Linked DNA regions of Homo sapiens: regions 1, 3 and 4 are each linked to region 2. The links are contacts of gene promoters, found by promoter capture Hi-C in blood cells and fetal thymus (Javierre and others, 2016). All regions are on one chromosome and are shown on one strand. The core of a region is centred on a gene start or on the middle of the fragment in contact, and the rest is flanking DNA. Distances in the headings are between cores, read along the strand shown. Region 1 overlaps BRD1 (bromodomain containing 1). Region 2 holds the start of IL17REL (interleukin 17 receptor E like). Region 3 holds the start of ZBED4 (zinc finger BED-type containing 4). Region 4 overlaps BRD1 (bromodomain containing 1).

Evidence for each region. The method cuts DNA at HindIII sites, captures the fragments that hold promoters and counts their contacts. A CHiCAGO score of 5 or more calls a contact.
Region 1: a fragment that was not itself captured here is called in contact with the fragment with the promoter of IL17REL in region 2 in 1 of 17 cell types (non-activated CD4 T cells); the score reaches 5.0 in non-activated CD4 T cells.
Region 3: a fragment that was not itself captured here is called in contact with the fragment with the promoter of IL17REL in region 2 in 1 of 17 cell types (activated CD4 T cells); the score reaches 5.3 in activated CD4 T cells.
Region 4: a contact is called between a fragment that was not itself captured here and the fragment with the promoter of IL17REL in region 2, in 1 of 17 cell types (activated CD4 T cells). The highest score is 5.5, in activated CD4 T cells.

Annotation. Positions count from the first base shown.
Region 1 is chr22:49,773,140-49,776,380 of GRCh38, reverse strand. It overlaps BRD1 (bromodomain containing 1), which reads left to right. Exons shown (of 13, transcript NM_001304808.3): 11 at 222-331; 12 at 636-790; 13 at 1,965-3,098. The coding sequence ends at 2,148. Among named protein-coding and RNA genes, the nearest start is that of BRD1, 53 kb to the left of the region's middle. The HindIII fragment of the contact is 4,454 bases long and covers 1-3,241 here.
Region 2 is chr22:50,011,141-50,014,322 of GRCh38, reverse strand. IL17REL (interleukin 17 receptor E like) reads left to right here and starts at 1,558. Exons shown (of 15, transcript NM_001371417.1): 1 at 1,558-1,778. The coding sequence starts at 1,677. RefSeq lists an enhancer at 1,073-1,673. The HindIII fragment of the contact is 1,957 bases long and covers 924-2,880 here.
Region 3 is chr22:49,853,703-49,856,735 of GRCh38, reverse strand. ZBED4 (zinc finger BED-type containing 4) reads right to left here and starts at 2,892. Exons shown (of 2, transcript NM_014838.3): 1 at 2,747-2,892. LOC124905147 (a long non-coding RNA gene) reads left to right here. Exons shown (of 2, transcript XR_007068156.1): 2 at 1,450-2,234. RefSeq lists an enhancer at 1-59 and silencers at 2,245-2,534, 2,705-3,033. The HindIII fragment of the contact is 470 bases long and covers 1,491-1,960 here.
Region 4 is chr22:49,806,466-49,809,709 of GRCh38, reverse strand. The region is part of intron 2 of BRD1 (bromodomain containing 1); the gene reads left to right. Among named protein-coding and RNA genes, the nearest start is that of BRD1, 20 kb to the left of the region's middle. The HindIII fragment of the contact is 634 bases long and covers 1,402-2,035 here.

The DNA of each region.
Region 1 (3,241 bases), core at 199-2,698, 240 kb after region 2:
TCCGTGGGAGGCTGGTGGCCCCAGGTGGGCTGCAGGGACAGTGGGGATGCAAGGGCCTGGACCCCACAGGGGAGGCAGTGGTGCTGCCGGGGTGGCTGAGAAAGGCCTGGGAGCTGGGCTGTGCTCGGGGGACCCACCCTGTTGCTGCACCTTTTGTGGGGGGGCGGGGCGTGCCCCGTGTCCTGCTGACGCCTGTGTCCTGCTGACGCCCCTCTCCGCAGAAGTCGGCCAGAGCAGCATGTGGATCTCCACTGATGCCGCCGCCTCGGTGCTGGAGCCTCTGAAGGTGGTGTGGGCCAAGTGCAGCGGCTACCCCTCCTACCCGGCACTGGTGAGTACGGCTCTCGTGGCGCCTGCGGGTCCAGAGGAGGCTCACACAGCTGCGGGGCGGGGGTGGTCCGAGGAGGCTCACGGCGGTGGTCCAAGGAGGTTCCACAGCTGGCGGGGGGGCGGGGTTGGTCAGAGGAGGTTCACACAGCTGGAAGGGGCAGGGGTGGTTCGGCGAGGGGGGCGTGGGGGTGGTCTGAGGAGGCTCACACAGCTGGGGTGGGGAGGCGGGGGGGGGTGCCAGTGACAGGTGGGGTTGTTTATGGGTGTGAGCCTCACAATGACCTCAGCGGGTCCTTCTCGTGCAGATCATCGACCCCAAGATGCCCCGTGTGCCTGGCCACCACAACGGCGTCACCATCCCGGCCCCACCCCTGGACGTGCTGAAGATTGGGGAGCACATGCAGACCAAGTCTGATGAGAAGCTGTTCCTCGTTCTCTTTTTTGATAATAAGAGAAGTTGGTGAGTTGAGAGGCCTTAGACTCCGGGGACCGGCTGGGGTGGTTGGGGGCCGTGGGCTCGGTGACCTGAGTGTCCCTGTGGTGAGCAGCGTCTTTGTCTGCTGGGCCCTGGCACAGCTAAAGTCGGAGGTGAGTGCTCCGCTGTTTGCCTGGTGGAGAAGGGCACTGCCCAGCCCCCTCGCCGGGACTGTGGGACGGGCACTGAGCACCGGGTCTGTCTCTGCCCGATGGCTTCCTCTCCCTCTCGCCTGAGCCCCATTGGTCTGGACTGTCTCTTCCCTACTCCTTACCCATGTGTCCGCTCCAGTGTTGGGGGTCCCTCTGCTGTGCTCCCGGACCCCTGTACTGCAGGACATGGCCCCTGCCCGGGCCTGGCCTCTGGCCCTGTTCTTAGAGCCTTCTGTCCCAGCATCATCCAGCTCTGCTCAGACATCCACCCCATCACAGGAGGCTCCCCCTGTGCCCTGAGCTGCTTTTCCCCAGAGCGTCTGGGACCCTCATGTGCCAGGGTTTAGACCCCAAGATCCCTCTGTGCAGGACACGCTGGCAGCACATGCCTCTGGGAGGAGCTGTGGCCCCGGCTGTGCCCTGCGCACGTGGCCCGGGCAGGTGCTTCCTGGTTCCCCGTGGAGCTGGCTGCACTTGGGACCTGGCGCAGGGGCTCGGGGCCACCTGCCTATGGTGTGCCTGGAGCAGGACTGGCAGCACAGGCATCCCTACCGTCTTTCTCTTCCTTGCCTCGACCTCTGCCTCTTTGGCCACGTGGCCACTGCTTCTTGTCAGGCCTTGAGCGAGGCCCACACCTTGTCCATCCGAGGGCCCCTTTGATGGGGTCTCCCCAACCACCGGCCTCTGCTCCAGGGCCCACCCTGACTCTGGGCTTGGTGTGTGCATGTCTTGTCACTAAGCAGGCACTGGGAAACGTTTTGGAGGTGGAGGAGGAGGTGATGGTTTTTATGCCTTACTTAGCTCCCCGTATCCCCAAGTCGGGGAGGGGAAGGGAGGGGTGCACTCCTGGCCTCGGGCCTGTCCCTGCACGGGGCCCAGCTGTCTTGGTGGTGCTGAGCAGGGCCCCTTTCTATCGGAGGGCAGTGAATTTGTTAGATGATTACATGGAGCCTGCTGAAATACCATGTGCAAGCAATGATTTTCCGCTTGTTTTTCCTTTTAAAAAGGCAGTGGCTTCCTAAGTCCAAAATGGTTCCCCTTGGTATTGACGAAACTATAGACAAGTTAAAGATGATGGAAGGGAGGAATTCCAGCATCCGGAAGGCCGTGCGGATCGCTTTTGACCGCGCCATGAACCACCTGAGCCGCGTCCACGGGGAGCCGACCAGCGACCTCAGTGACATTGACTGACGGCCCGGCCGCCAGCGCGGGTCTTGTCCATAGTGTTGATAAGCTGTACATGTTTGTATATTGTTCAAAACTTAACTTATTCTGATTTTTAGTTATAGCTCTTTAATTCTTTTTCCCCGGGGAGGGGGGAGGTTTTATTTCCAAGTTTTCTAGGAACCCATCTCCGTCTGGGCGCTGTGAGTGGGGTGGGCACGTCCGGGCAGCCCAGTGCGTCTGTCGCACGTCCCCAGGCCGTGCTGCTGGCGTCACTTTCTTTGATATGTAGCTTTTTCTTAAAGACTTTTGAATGTTTAATAATTTTGTAAATCATGCTCTTTACACAGAGTACCACTTATTTAATAAGACGGGATGTAAATTTACAATGACAAATGTGTATTTTAAGAAAGAAAATGACATTATTTTGAATGGTACTTTGTGGAAAGAGGGGAGAATAAAGTTATGCTGTGTACATCACTTGCAGATCACCAAAAACACTCCGCTGCCCGTGACCGCCGGTGGGTGTGTCCCCGCTCCCGTCGTCCCGCCCACCTCAAACCCCGCAGGTGTGCCTCCCAGCGGATTATTTATTGTAGAAAGTGTATTCATTTGCTTTATAATGAAAAATACATTTGCAAAGGTATATTGATATGCATTTTTATACAGGCACATAAAAATTCAACTTGGCTTGGGAGCAGAATGCATTGCATTGTATAAATGACTCTGGCCTGTGTGTACTTTGATTTTATAACTTGTAATCTTTTGTTTACAATGAGGGGCTTTCTGTAACTTGTTTTAATTTAGAACACTTTGGTAGCAATAGAAACTTTGGATACATTTTTGTATGGTACCTGTGATGTATATAGAATTAGTACTTTATTTTTATTTTTAAGAGGTAAAGCATTATGTTGGGGAAAGTAGGGTGGGTTTCCAAATTTGCATTTTTTATATTAAAAATAAAGTCAAGATTTGGACGGTGTGGCCATTTTATTCCTACAGCCCTAGACGGCTAGGTGAGCCCCAAGGACGGGTGGGGTGCTGGCTGCAGGGGGCGGGGACACGCCTTTATCTTGAAAACTGTCATGGGATGGCATTATTTGTTATTTCACCTGATCAT
Region 2 (3,182 bases), core at 309-2,808:
GTTTGGGTGTGAGTGGGCCCATGGGGGAGGGACATTTGTCCTTTCCCAATGATCCTGCTGGCCGTGCCCATGGACATCGTCTGGGACACCCCTGCCACAGTACAGCAGCCCCCATCGTCCCCTGGTATAAGGAGGGCTGGAGGCCAGGCTGAGGGGCGAGGCCCAGCTGGAGTATCTGTCTTACAGCTCAGCCAGCCTGGGATAGGGGATGACAGTGGCCCGTCCTGAGCCACCCCCAAATGTGCCTGCCTGCTGCTGACCATGCCGTGGCATGGAGGCTGGCACTAGCCACTCTCTCCAGGGCATTGTGGCCACAGGCACGCTGCTGCAGGGGGCGGGCTCAGCCCCATCTACTCTGCCCAGCAGTGAGTGCATAAGTTCCAGCCCATGGAGGGCTCTAGGCCAGGCGGGGGCAGGGTCGAGGTGCTGGCCCAGGAGGCAGGGAGGTGGGCAGTGCGGGGTGGTGGGAGGGAGGGAGGACTTCACGGTCACAGCAGCCCCTGCCGCCTTCCCTCCCCTGGGACCGAACCCCAGAGCTTGTTTCTCAAGCTCCCTCCTGACTACCCGAGCCCACAGTGTGAGGCCCACAGCCTCTCCCAGCCTGGGGGTGGTGCCGCCCTCCACACTTGGGGTGTCCTGTGGGTATTCCAGGCAGAACACCCCAGCTAGACACTCCCAGGCTCCCCAGCTATTAACTCCCGCCATCCCCCCCCCACACACACACAGACACACACACACACACACACACACACACACACACACACACACACACACACGTGGGGCAGTGCCCTCCCAGAACCTGAGGCAGGTGCAGAAGCCTCTGTGCCTGTCCAGGAAGGGAGGAGCCAGGAGGACCCAAGAACTGCACCCTGGTTCTCTCCAACCCCCTGCCCTGGCTGGAGGCAAATGGGAAGCAGTAAGCTTCTGCCCAGAAACTTTCCTATGCATTTGATGCTCCAAATAAGAAGATGACACAGAACGGCTCCCTGAGCAGAGGCTGGGCCCCAGAGTTCCCAGCCTCGGGGGGTGCCCTCCGGAGTGGGGGGGGGCTCATAGGGAGGACCACACAGGGGAGGTGGCCTTTTGCATCTTGAGGGGAGGTGGAGGCCAGGGACTTGGGTGGAATCTCAGGTCTTAGGAGAGGGCTCCCCTTAGGGGCTGGGGCTGAAGCCAGGGGCTCTGGGGTATGAGTGCCCAGGACAGATTCCACCCCTCTGCCAGCCCAGCCAGCTTTCCAGGGCCCTTGTCTACCCTCCTGGCCTCATGCATGCCTGAGGGAGGTGCACGCCGGCGGCAGCCTATCCCGCCGGCCTGGAGCCATCTCTGCACCAGTGGCCGCCCTGTGGGGAACCCCATTAGGGTGTCCTCGGACCCCAAAGGCCCCAAGGTTTCTGGATGCTTCCTTTGGAAACCTAGAAACTCCACAAGTGTCTGGCCACAGTCTTCTGGCCCCAGGCGGTGGAAAGTCTCCCGGGCTGCTGTCTGTGAAGCGAGCCCTGTTTTGCCGGGAGGGGGAGTGTCTCGCTCGCTCCAGCTGTGAAGAGCAGCCTCCACCCTCTGTTTGTCTTTGGGGCTGGAGCTGCAGGGTCAGCCTGGAGCCGCTGCCACAGGGCATCCTGCAAACTTGCCCCACTCACATCCACGCTTACCAGTGGGAGCTCTCACTGCACAGCCAGATGCTGGCTGGGCAAGCACTCGCGTTCTTGGGCCTGACCTGGGGCACTTTCCAGAGCCTGGCCATCCCCCGGATTACAGAATGTGGCCTCTCCTGTTCTCAGGTAAGCTCCTGCCTCCTCCTAGGCCCCTACACTGTGGCAGATAAGGCCCTGGTTTCTCCTCAGGTGGGTCTGGCCTGACGCTCTCAGCACATCAGCAGGTGAGGGGTTGCAGGGCCCTGGGGGGTCCGAGGGCAGCGCTGGTGAAAGAAGGATGGGAGACCTGGCCTGACCCTGCCGAGCTGCTCCGGGAAGTGTTTGCTGGAAGCTCAAGGCAGGGTGAGCCCACCTCGGACCCACCTGTGACCTCCAAGGAGGCTGTGTTAGAATCTAGGGCAGCCCGCAAGCCCATCCGGGGCTCCCACCCCACCCCGCTCGGCTGCTCTGAGCCATCGGGAGCCCGCAACACCTGGGCTTGTGTAGACACCTGCCAAGGAAACACTCGGAGAACGTGCTGAGAATGAGATGTTGGCAGTGGAGGTGGCTGGGTTGGGGTGGAGGGCTCTCACTGCACAGCCCACTCACTCAGCCTTACAGGAGAGGGCGCTTCATCAGCACCTGCAGCAGGAAGTGTACCCAGCATCCCAGGAAGGGGCCCCGGTGCCCAAGGCTGGCCGGGCACAGTGGGGACACAGGCATGGAAAGGGCACAGAAGGTGTCCCGGAAAGGGAGGACTCACTGAGGACCTGCTGGGTGCACCGTTCCTGGCATGGGGACAGCAGTTAGCAAGATGTGCCTTTAGGGTGGTGGCCTGGTCACCTCAGGGGACACTTGCGGGGACATCCAGCAGCTCCACAGGGCCTGAGACGGGTCCAGCAGAGGGCTCAGCTCAGGGAGGGGAGCAGCAAGGGCTGGAGTGCTGGGTGCCATGGGCAGGCTCAGATCCACAGGGCATTCGTGGAACAAGGAAGAAAGCAGGCTGGGATGCGTGGGAACCGGTGGCAGCAGGGGAGATGGGCGGGTTCAGGTGGGAGGGGTGTCCACCGGATGCCACCCTGCAGTGGAGATGGAAAACAGGGAGGGGGCAGGCCTGGGGATCCTGGCTAGGAGGGGGAAGGAGAAGCGAGAGATGAGACCTCAGAATCGACTTTTGCCTCTGGGAGGAAATGGTCCCTGAGTTGGGAGACATGGGGGGAGGCGGCCTTGAAGTGCAAGCTGGAAAGCTTTGCTGAGGCGGCTGCGGGGTATGCAGGCAGCCTCCCGGTCCGAGGTGTGACCGCGCTGTCCACGCTAGGACGGCCAGGTGATCCTGGGGAATGGGTGGGGACCAAGATTGAACCCTCAGTACTCCAAGGAAAGGGGCAGGGGCAAGGGCAGGGGCTGAGGCGGGTGGAAGAGGCCAGGAAGGAGGGGAAGTGCTGGAGGGGAGAGGAGAGGAGGGGTTTGGCGGGGCTGAGGGAGGGTCTCATGGAAGATGGGGTGGGGAGGGTTGAGCAGGAGGGGTCAAGGGGTGACAAGAGGAGCGGG
Region 3 (3,033 bases), core at 476-2,975, 160 kb after region 2:
GGCCGGGATTCCAGCGCGGCCTTCACCTAGAACGAGGGATGGGAAGCCGGCCGGGATTCCAGCGCGGCCTTCACCTAGAACGAGGGATGGGAAGCCGGCCGGGATTCCAGTGTGGGTCATTTAGGCTGCATGTCCCCTGAATTCCGAAACAACCCGGGGGAGCTGGGAGGCGGCTTCAGCAGCAGGCGCTTGGGCCGGGCAGGAGGTACGCACTGGGATGCCGTGAGGCTGCCTCTGCACCTCATGGACAATGCTCTCCTGGGGCTTCCGCCATCGCCCCCAGACCCTTCAGGGCAACCTCCTCTCCCTATGAGGTCTCCGGAGCATGCTTTCCTGAGAAACTGGGATTACCCCTGCTCTCACCTGCCGGTGTTTCTCCTTGAAGCACTTACTGAGCCTTTTTCTCTGGTTTACGCTGCTCCTCACCACCACCATGTTCCCTACGGCCAGGGCCTTCTTTGAAAACCACCATGGCCCCAGCAGGCAGAGAGGCAAGCACCTCTGTCTCTCCTGCTCCCCTCCGCCTCAGAAATGGCAAAGAGCTTATTTTATTCCTAACAATGCCTCCCAGAATTTGAACTACAAAAGCACATATCCAGTGATGACCAAGGAAGGGATCTGAGGTACTGCAGAATGTAGAAAAACCTAGGTGCTAAAAAGTGGGGAGCAGAAGGGCCTGGAAGGCTGGGATGCAGAGAGGCCCGAATCCTTGAAAGGGCTGAAGCCAGAGAGCTGCTGGAATCCACAGACACTAAAAGAGAAAGCCAAAACCAAACCGCTAAGGGGTGTCACGGGCTAAAGGCACAGTGACTTTCTTACACAGCCAAATGTAAATAAGAGCAATTCCTATAGGTACATTCTCAGGTCCTGAGATTTAAACAGTGAAGGAAACAACGTTGGTAAGGAAGGGCCAGCTTGGCCTCTACCCCAGGGCTGGGCAAAGCCACGCCCAGCTGTTTCACCTGCTCCCTCCTCTCAAAAGACAACCACCACACCAAAGAGAATGAGACCAGAAGCTAAAGCCAGGCAAAGAAAAAAACGCAAAACAAAGTGAAGGACGGCACTGACCACGGTCACTTCCTGCTCCTCATGCCGCCAGGAGTCCACTCCCCAGGGCTCCTCACCAAGGATCTGAGACACACACACACACACACCTTTCGCTAAAGAAGCTGCTTCTCAGCTCCTCTGCACACACACAGAAGTCAGTCCGCTCCCCTAGTAATTTTTTTAGTCTTTCTGCAAGGTGTTATGGACATACTTTGCACAGCTGAGTTACTCACTGTGTGTGTGGAGGGGGTTGGGGAGGAGGTAACCTTAAAGAGCAGAGGTTTTACATCCAACAACATCAACCACCTTATTCAGGAATTACCTGGACAAGAGTGTGTGTTGGGGGAGACCCTGTAACCACCTGTCAAGTGGACTAAAAGTCTTAGGTTTCTTTCCATATAGATTAACTGTGTCCTCACCTCAAAGACCGGGCCTCTGAAGCTTTTTCAAGATTCACAGAATCTCTCTTAACTTGTGCTAGATCTTTTCTTGAAAAAAAGCCAATCATGACAAGCAGATATAATCCGTTTAAGGACTACGGGAAGTGTGCAGCCTTGTACGGACGTCCCATTGGAAACCCTCGGAGTATGGAATCAAACTCCTGTAAACTTTCCTCTTGCAAAGTAACTTTGTTTAGTAATTGCAATTAATTCATAATCAAAATGTGGCTTATTCATAGCACTTAAAAAAAAATCCCAACCAAATCCTTCCTAGCCTCAATTTTGTCACTATGAATGACATACACAGAAAAAATAAAAAACATTTCTGTGTAAAAAGTCGCAGGATGCCCTTGCTTTACCAAACTGGCCTCACTATGAGGTCTGAATGGATTTCTAAAAACGTAATCTGATCAGAGTTAACTTCAAAATAAATAACTTCCCTTTCGACCAACACGAGAACACCAACAGAAGCTTCTGACGGCTCAGCTTGGCCGGGACGTGTTTCCACAGAGGTGCCCGGGTCTACCAGGGCCACCCGGAATAGAAAGGCGCAGAAGGGAGCCCGAGGGGCTGCGATTCTCTTAGCAACGAAGGCGGTGTGGGCCACACAACGGGACAAAAGAAGAAACAAAACTGACTGCGAGCTCATTTGGGTGTAGGAAAACCACTGCAGTCGAAAAACATTTGAAATTATGGTTCGCAAGGCAAGTTACATTTTTATTCATTAAATGTGAACGGTCATCCCCAGAACCACGTACAATAACCTGCCTCGGGGCGCGTCGCAAGGACCCGTCTGGGCTGAGACATGAAGCAGGGCCCAGGTGGCCCTTCCTGGAGGTGGGACGGGAATGACACGTCCAGAGAAGTCCCAGGGACGGGGCTCGCGGGGTTAACTCGACGTGGCCGGGACAGCGCGCTCCCGGCGGACCCGGGCGGCGCCCCGAGCCCGAGCCCCGTCCCGTCCGCCCGGAAGCAACGGCGCGGGCACGTGGGCCAGGCCGGGCGCCGACCCCCGGCACTCGGCCGCTCAGTCGGCGCCGCCCCCGCGCCAGCTGTCAGGGCCGGGGTCCGCGCGGGGGCGGGTCCGGGGCGGCGCCGGGCGGGGACCCCGAGGCCACGGAACCGCGCCCCCGCCCGCCTGGCCCCGGCCCTGGCCCCGGCGCGGCGCAGACAATGGCGCGGCCCGGCCCGGCCCCGGCGCGGTCCGCGGGGGACGGGGCTCGCGGCAGGCGGCGGGGCGGCGGCGCCCGCGCACTCACCTCGGCCCGGCCTCTGGGGCGGCTCCCGGCCGGCTGCGGACGACGGCGGCGCGGGCGGACGCTCCATTCATTACCGCGGCTTTGTCTGCCCCCGCGCCCCTCCCGCGGCCCCGCCGCCCGCCGCCCGCGACGCCGCCGGACGCTGCGCCCCTCCCAGGGCCCCGCGCGGCGCGGGGCGGGGCTGGCCGGGGGCGGGGCCGATCGGGGGCGGGGCCTACTCTCGCAGGCGCAGTGTCCGCGTACCCGCCCCGCCTCGTCCCTGGCCGGGCGGGAGGACGGAGCGCCGG
Region 4 (3,244 bases), core at 469-2,968, 200 kb after region 2:
TTCACTCCAGTCATGGTGTTTCTCTGGCCTCAGTTCAGCTGATCGGTCAGCAGTACCCACTTTCTGCTCCTTAATGTACACCTGAACATTTTCCTTATGTCCAGCTTCAGCCTTGCTGTGGTATTTTAAAACTGGAATTACATATATATATATATATATATTTTTTTTGGAGACGAAGTCTCATTCCGTCACCCAGGCTGGAGTGCAGTGGCGCGATCTCGGCTCACTACAACCTCCGCCTCCCGTGTTCAAGCGATTCTCCTGCCTCAAGCCTTCCAAGTAGCTGGGATTACAGGCACCTGTCACCACGCCTGGCTAATTTTTGTATTTTTAGTAGAGACGAGGTTTCACCATCTTGGCTAGGCTGGTCTTGAACTCCTGACCTCATGATCCACCTGCTTCGGCCTCCCAAAGTGCTGGGATTACAGGCGTGAGCCACTGCACCTGGCCTAAAACTGGAATTTTAAATTTTTAACCAGATTGACAACCTCTTCATTAGCAACTTTAGACTGTTGACTTATGTTGGATTACTGATCTATTTTGGATTTGTTTCCATGATCCTTTTTTTCCCTTTTTCTTTATTTTTCCTCTGAGACTGAGTCTTGCTATGTTGCCCAGGCTGGAGTGCAGTGGTGTGATCTCGGCTCACTGTAATGTCTTCCTCCCGGGTTCAAGCAGTTCTCCTGCCTCAGTCTCCTGAATAGCTAGGATTACGGGCGTGTGCCATCATGCCTGGCTAATTTTTTTGTATTTTTAGTAGAGATGGGGTTTCACCATGTTGGCCAGGCTGGTCTTGAACTCCTGACCTCATGATCTGCCTGCCTCGGCTTCCAAAAGTGCTGGGATTACAGGCGGAAGCCACTGCGCCCGGCTCACTTTTTCTTCTGATGTATTGACTCAGATGGTTTTGCTGTTTTGGAGTCGGGGGCATTTTTCCTCCTCTACTCATTTGGAAGGTGCACATTCCATTTAACTCTCTGTATTCAAGTTTTTTCAGTATTTTACTGTGGTCACGTACACATAACATAAAATGTACCATCTTAATCATTGTAAGTGTATAGCTCAGGGGCATGAAGCACTTTGATATTGCTGTTGCTGTGCAGCCATCACCACCATCTATCTTCAGAGCCTTTTTGTCTTCCCAGTCTGAAACTCTGTCCCAGTTAAACAGGAACTCCCCATTCCTCCCTCCCTGGCTGCGGGCGTTCACCGTTCTACTCCCTGTCTCCATGAATTTGACTCCTCTTCAGTCCCTCACATAAGCGCAATCAGGCAGTATTTGTCTTTTTGTGTCTGGCTTATTGCACTGAGCACATTTTCAAGGCTTTTCCATGTCATTGCATGCATTGGAACTTCCTTGCCTTTTAAGGCTGAATAACCCTCTGTATGTGGAGATAAGCTTTTGCTTACCCATTCCTTCCTCCATGGGCTCTTGGGTTGCTTCCATGTTTTAGCCATCGTGAATAATGCTGTGAAGAACATGGGTGATAAGTATCTGAGCCTGTTTTCAGTTCTTTTGGGTGTATACCCGGAAGTGGGATTGCCAGGTCACACGGCATTTCTGTCTTTAAGTGTTTGAGGAGCCACAACACTGTTTTCCACAGCGGCTACACCTTTTTACGTTCTTGCCGGCGGTGCGCAAGGGTTCAGGGTTTCCACATCCTTACCAACATTTTTTTTTTGTTTTTTGTTAGTATTTTTTGATAGCCATTCTAATAGGTGTGAAGGTGACATCATAGTTTGGATTTGCATTTCTGTGTTTATTGAGCATTTGCACTTTTGAAGAATTGTCTATTTGAGTATTTTAACCAGTTTTGAATTGGATTATTTTTTGTCAAGTTTTAGGAGTTTCTGGATATTAATCCCATTTCAGATACGTGATTTGAAAATATTTCCTCCCATTCACTCTGCTGTGTGTCTTTTAATGCACACATTTTAACATTTTTCATGAAGCCCAGTTTATTTTTTCTTTTTGTTTCCTGTGCCTTTGGTGTCTTATTCAAGAAATCATTGCCAAATCCAGTGTCATGAAGCTTTTCCCTTCTGTTTTAAGAGATTTATAGTTTTAGGTCTTATGTCTAGGTCTTCGATTTTGAGTTAATTTTTGTGTGTGAAATGAGGCAAGGTCCAACTTCACATTCTTTTGCATGGCCATATCCACTTGTCCTGGTGCCATCTGCTGAAAAGACTGTCTTTTCCCCTCTGAATGGTCTTGGCACCCTTGTCAACAGTCTCTGCTGGATACGGGAGGGTTCGCTTCAGGGTTCTCTGCTATTCCCATGGTCTATATGTGTGTCCTTTCGTCAGCACCGCACTGTTTTGATGACCGTAGCTTTGTGGTAAGTTCTGAAGTCAGGAAGCGTGACTTTTACAGCTTTTTCAAGGTGATTTGGCTGTTGGGTGTTCCTTGAGTTTCCATATGAATTTTAGGGTGGATTTTCCTATTTCTGCAAAAGACATCATTGGTATTTTGATAGGAATTGCATTGGATCTGTAGATCACTTTCGGTGGTATTGACATCTTAACAATATTGGTCTTCCTATCCATACGTTCCCTAGTGCATTTAGTGGGTCCCATGGTAAAGTATTTATGTGTCAGCATGTAGACTGGGCTTAACAAAAATCCAAGGAATACTTGATGTTGGAACTCTGGTGACCTCCCTCATTTCCGGGGTTCTTTTCCCTGGTGTGGGTTCTTTTTTTTTTTTTTTTGAGACAAAGTCTCGCTCTTGTTCCTCAGGCTGGAGTGCAATGGTGCGATCTTGGCTCATTGCAACGTCCGCTTCCCGGGCTCAAGCGATTCTCCCACCTCAGCCTCCCGAGTAGCTGGGATTGTAGGCACGCACCACCACACCCGGCTAATTTTTGTATTTTTAGTAGCGACGGGGTTTCACCATGTTGGCCAGGCTGGTCACGAACTGCTGACCTCAGGTGATCCGCCCGCCTCGGCCTCCCAAAGTGCTGGGATTATAGGCGTGAGCTACCGCGCCCGGCTCCTAGTGTGGGTTCTGACTTGTCTGCAGTCATCCCTGAGGTGGGCATTGCGGCTGCTGCCCCCAGGCCTCCTTCATCTTGCCCGTATTGCCGGCATCTCAGTCCACCCAGCCCTCAGGGACTGCTTTCTGTGGTTGTCATATGTATGTCTTTGCTTAGTTTTCTTATCTGAGGTCTGTTTCCCCTTAACTCTTCTGTCCGAGTTGAGTGGGGGTGCTCATCGCCTCAGCTGGGAAGCTGCTCTTCCATGC